Regions from separate parts of the Homo sapiens genome. Here region 1 is linked to region 2. The links are contacts of gene promoters, found by promoter capture Hi-C in blood cells and fetal thymus (Javierre and others, 2016). All regions are on one chromosome and are shown on one strand. Each heading gives the region's core, a stretch centred on a gene start or on the middle of the fragment in contact. The rest is flanking DNA. Distances are from core to core; before and after follow the strand shown.

Region 1 (2,700 bases), core at 180-2,679, 150 kb before region 2:
TTTCTCCCCCCTCTCCATGTTTTTTATTCCTAAGTTCTTTTGTTCTAAGGGGGATGATGGCATTTACTTTTCTGCTTTGTGTAGCAGGGCAATCACTGGGAATCGGCCACGTATAATCCGGCGGTTTGTCATATTTTATTAGTGAAAGTATTTTATGCCTATTCTACCTCCAAGGACTGTAACATGGAGAATTGCAGGGAGGAGAAAAACATCAGAAGAATTCTTGTTTTGAGAGATTTCTTGGCGGGGCGGGGGAGGGCCTTTTTTTTTTTTTTTGGAGGGGGTTTATTTAGATTTTCGAATCGATAGTTTTCAACTTGAAGCTTAACGTTTTTGTATGGATGTATTACCGGATTCTAAACCCCCAACCACAATAAATTTTTTAAAAGTAAAAAATCTTAGATTAAAAAAAACCCCTACTGGACAGTGATATTATCTGATCTGTGCAGCACTCTGGACTTAACATAGTGTTGGCCTTCGAATGTTAAATAACAATAAACCCCAACCTCAACTGAATACAAATGGGGGGGTGGGGGGTTTTGTTTTTAAAGCTCAGCACTTTTGTAGCAACTGCCACTACGCATTTTCCAGGCATTGATTAGCCATGCAACTCCCATAGGCATGAAATCCAGTTTTTGCAGATAAAGAGCAACAGTGGTGAGATGATTTGCCCAAAGTCAAAGTGAGTCATTCGCAGAACCAGAAATAGCCTTGGACTTTACTAGTCACATCTTTTCCATTAAATAATATTTCTATTACCTTGTTATGTATTTTCACAAGAGGTGCTTTGAGATCATTGGATATGAAGGTATTTTTTTACTTTCGTGACCTGCAAAATTAAGTTTAGTTTCTCAAGAAAAAGCAATTTTTAAAAATTCTGATTTCTTAAAAAATAAAATATGGACTTTATGGTACATGTGTAGGCCATTTAGTAGTCTGAGCTTTATGTTAAAAAAAATTCACAGCAGCGAAAGTGTAAGAGTTTGAGAGTGAAAATGAAAATTCCTATAAATGATTCAAGAAGCCTAGATGAACTCATAATGTTGTGAAACTAAACCCATAACGCAGTCAAGATGAATAACGGGAGGACAGGTTGGGTAGTAAGACCCAGCTTTACCATCTAGAGCTAACTGTAATGTATTTAAAATGAGGGAGGGGGTCTTTCAAGCTGGACCCACTGGCCAGTCACTGGAACTATAACCTAATGGTGTGATTTCAAATCATCCCAGGCTATCAACCTTTTTTCATAGGAAGACTGCTTTGGTGTTCTTTCTGGAAAAAGAAGGTAAAATTTTTTTTGGAATTTCATAGAAAAAAATCCAGAACCTCTAATTGTATCATGCTATAGAACTGGGGTTAGCAAACTTTTTCTGTAAAAGCCCAGATAGTAAATATCGTAGATTTTGCATCCCATACAGTCCCTGTCACAACTTCTCCACTCTATGCTGTTATAACCCAAAAGCATCTATACGACAACATGTAAATGAATGAATCTGGCTATGTTCTAATACAATTTGTATTTATAGGCCTTGACATTTGGATTTAATGTACTTTTCACATGTCTTGAAATATTCTTTTGATTTTTTTCAGTCATTAAGAAAAATTTTTTAAAAAGCACCACATTCCCAGTTTGGGGACTTCACAAAACCAGGCAGTGAGCTGGATGGGGCCCACGGGCTGTCATTTACCAATCCTTGCTATAAAAAAAGACTTAAGGTGGACTAACCACTGAACTTGTACCAAAGGGTGCTTGGTTATTAAGATGTGTGGTAGCAACCAAAAATCAATGTTATGCAAAGTCATTGTCTAGATATTTAATTAAAATATTTTTAGCTGAATATAAGAGTGTCTAACACTCCTGTAACTACCAAACTTAATGGAAAAAAAATACTCTGGAAGTATTGCTCCTTCAACTAAGGCACTTTGGGGCAGGCTGCTTAATCTCTGTTAACAGCCTCAGTTTTCCTATCTTGTAAATTGCAGCTTAGAATACCTACTTCCAGCCCCGGGCAAGGTGTTGCATGCCTGTAATCCCAGCACTTCGGGAGACCGAGGCTGGCGGATCCCTTGAGCTCAGGTGTTCAAGACCAGCCTGGTCAACATGGTGAAACCCTATCTCTACAAAATGTGCAAAAATTAGCTGGGCATGGTGCCACGCACCTGTAGTCCCTGCTACTCTGGAGACTGATGTGGGAGGATCACTTGAGCCCAAGGGGTTGAGGCTGCAGTAAGCTGAGATTGCTCCACTGCACTCCAGCTGGGTGACAGAGTGAGGCCCTGTCTCAAAAACAACAACAAAAACCCTACTAAGTAGGGCTCTCGAGAAGACTGAATAAAATAATTCATGTAACGTGCTTAGCACAGTCCTGGCACATAGAACTGTATAATGCATTTTCACTGTGCCCTTAAATTCATTTTCTTAGTTAACATAACTCAAGAAGGTGAACAGGTGGCATCCCAGTATTTTGATGGTGCAGATGTGCATGTGGGATTCAGGGACTCTCGTGTTGATTGAAGATTGTGAGGTTGGCATTATAAGCTTTGGTGGGTCTTTCTCAAGCTCTCAGCATCTCTGTGTGCTTGACACAGGCACTCTGTGGGCACACACTAGCTCTGTGGCCTTATACAAAATACCTAGGCTTTCTGAACCCTGGTGTTCCTTAAACATAAAGATAATACCTTGTGAGATTGTTGTAAGGG
Region 2 (2,700 bases), core at 150-2,649:
TTTTGGTGACATCCATGGCTTAGCTGCAATGACATCTCTACCTCTTAAAGGCCTTTGGTTCCTGAGCTAATTAAACGTCCCAGACAGAAAGGACATGCTTAATCTTATTAATAACTTCTGGTCAGGAAACAGTGTGCCCAGCCCTCTGAGGGAGTGCCTTTCTGAACCACCTCCATTTGTTCAGGTGCTTGGCGATTGCTATCAGCCCTTTCAAGAGATTAAGTTTGTACGCAGGAGCAAGCCACTTAGGTAATGGATCCCGGGGCCCTGGGAGTGTCTGGTGACTGTGGAGTGTGCAGCCAGCCAGCACCTTGGCTCATTCAGATTCCAGAACCACTGTTTTCCAACTTCCTGCTCTTCAGAACCATTGGGGGGTAGGGAGGGACTTGACTATCGAGGAGAAGAGGGGGACTCTCCTATCTCTGGCTGTTCACCCAGCCCTTTCACACAGAGGGAAGCTGGGGACTGTCCTTGCCCTGAGGAGCCTCACAGCTCAGTGGGGTCACAGATACAAACAATGTGAGCAAATAAGGACAATACCACATTAGACTGGAAACAGTGGAGGTGAGCACATGATGCCCTGTGGGTGTATACCGTTGGTAACTGCTCCAGCCTGGGGGTTCAGGGAAGGCTTCCTGGAAGAAGAAACAGGTGAGATGAGAAATGAGAGTTACAAGCTGAAAATCGGCTGGGCATGGTGGCTCACACCTGTAATCCCAGCACTTTGGGAGGCCAAGGAGGCCGGATCACCTGAGGTTAGGAGTTCCAGAGGAGCCTGGCCAACATGGTGAAACCCCGTCCCTACTAAAAATACAAAAATTAGCTGGGCGTGGTGGGGCGCGCCTGTAATTCCAGGTGCTCAGGAGGCTGAGGCAGGAGAATCGTTTGAAACTGGGAGGCGGAGGTTGCAGTGAGCCGAGAACACACCATTGCACCCCAGCCCGGGCAAAAAGAGCGAAACTCCGTGTCAAAAAAATAGTAATAATAATAAATAAAATTTTTAAAAAGCTGAAAATCTCCCCCGTTGAGGGGAGATCTGTTGAGGGGACTGTGAAATGGAATTCCCTGACTGGGTTTCGTGCAGGCTTTAGTATAAGGCTGGAAGGATGGAAATAGCTCCCTCATCAATTTACGGGACAGTGGTTGGTGAAGCCTTAAAATGCCAATGTTCCAGGAACACTGTTATCGGTTCCAGGACTATTGTTGCTTTAAGCCCCCACCTTGAGCATTCAGAGAAGAGAGATTACTAAGACGAAGTTGCAGATGTCTCTTTAAAAAAGGAGAGAGGATTCCTCGAGCCACGCCCTCTTCTCATTAATATTAAATTATTGTGAATATTGATGTGGGGGCGTGGCGCCTTGGCCAGCTGGGCTAGCCAGCCAGGGGTTCCCGGTTTCACAGAGAGGAAAGTGACAGAAGACGTGCGGAGGGAGACGCAGAGACAGAGGAGAGGCCGGCAGCCACCCAGTCTCGGGGGAGCACTTAGCTCCCCCGCCCCGGCTCCCACCCTGTCCGGGGGGCTCCTGAAGCCCTCAGCCCCAACCCCGGGCTCCCCATGGAAGCCAGCTGTGCCCCAGGAGGAGCAGGAGGAGGTGGAGTCGGCTGAATGCCCACGGTGCGCCCGGGGCCCCTGAGCCCATCCCGCTCCTAGCCGCTGCCCTAAGGCCCCCGCGCGCCCCGCGCCCCCCACCCGGGGCCGCGCCGCCTCCGTCCGCCCCTCCCCCGGGGCTTCGCCCCGGACCTGCCCCCCGCCCGTTTGCCAGCGCTCAGGCAGGAGCTCTGGACTGGGCGCGCCGCCGCCCTGGAGTGAGGGAAGCCCAGTGGAAGGGGGTCCCGGGAGCCGGCTGCGATGGACGCCGTCTTGGAACCCTTCCCGGCCGACAGGCTGTTCCCCGGATCCAGCTTCCTGGACTTGGGGGATCTGAACGAGTCGGACTTCCTCAACAATGCGGTAAGATGAAGGGTCTCCGTTCCCGTTCCACCCCTCGGCACCCGTCCTCGCGGCGCGCCTGGGCCCCTAGAAGGACCCGACTACACATCACTGGGCAGGAGCCGGGGAGAGGGTTCAGCGCAGGGTCTCCAGGAGCGACATGTGTTTGGAGCTAAGCGCCCCTCCTGGGGGCTCAATCTTTGAATACACTGGCCTCCACCTTCTAGGGGGAAGGGGCCATCGAGGTATCGGGTCCGTCCGATCCTCGGATCTGAGCTCAAGAGACACCAATCCCGCCCTCCACCCACGTCTTCTAGCCGTCCCCAACCCACCCCAGGTTCCAGGACCAGACTGGGCGCAAAGTGGCAGCGCCCTTTCCTGCGCCTCCCTTGGGGCTTCGGTGGCTCATAGGCTGGATCTCCGCTGGGGGGCGCACCGGGGAACGTTCAGAGGGCCTGAGACCCGACCCCTCGGGGAAGCCAGGCCCAGAAATTTCAGGGTGCTACCCTGGCAGCCCCAGGGAATCAGGCCCAGAGACCCCCCACCCCAGGGAGGGACCTGAGGCTGGGGGCTGGGAAGAGGCGGTCAGGGCAACATAGGGTGATGGCTCAGGAGGAGGGAGCCATTTCTCTCCATCTGCCTCTAGATCTCTGCTCTGTCCCTCTGTTCCTGGAGTCTGGCTGACTTTCTCCCTCTCCCTATGTCTTCTTGACTAGGTCCGACTGTGAGCTTGTCTTTCTCCTCTTTCTCACTCTTCCCCTCCCTCCCTA

Evidence for each region. The method cuts DNA at HindIII sites, captures the fragments that hold promoters and counts their contacts. A CHiCAGO score of 5 or more calls a contact.
Region 1: a contact is called between a fragment that was not itself captured here and the fragment with the promoter of CREB3L1 in region 2, in 1 of 17 cell types (M0 macrophages). The highest score is 6.0, in M0 macrophages.

What each region holds. Positions count from the first base shown.
Region 1 is chr11:46,122,491-46,125,190 of GRCh38, forward strand. LOC105376661 (a long non-coding RNA gene) reads left to right here. Exons shown (of 3, transcript XR_931252.4): 1 at 1-2,700. Among named protein-coding and RNA genes, the nearest start is that of PHF21A, 2.4 kb to the left of the region's middle. The HindIII fragment of the contact is 2,216 bases long and covers 322-2,537 here.
Region 2 is chr11:46,276,263-46,278,962 of GRCh38, forward strand. CREB3L1 (cAMP responsive element binding protein 3 like 1) reads left to right here and starts at 1,400. Exons shown (of 12, transcript NM_052854.4): 1 at 1,400-1,951. The coding sequence starts at 1,850. The HindIII fragment of the contact is 5,299 bases long and covers 1-2,700 here.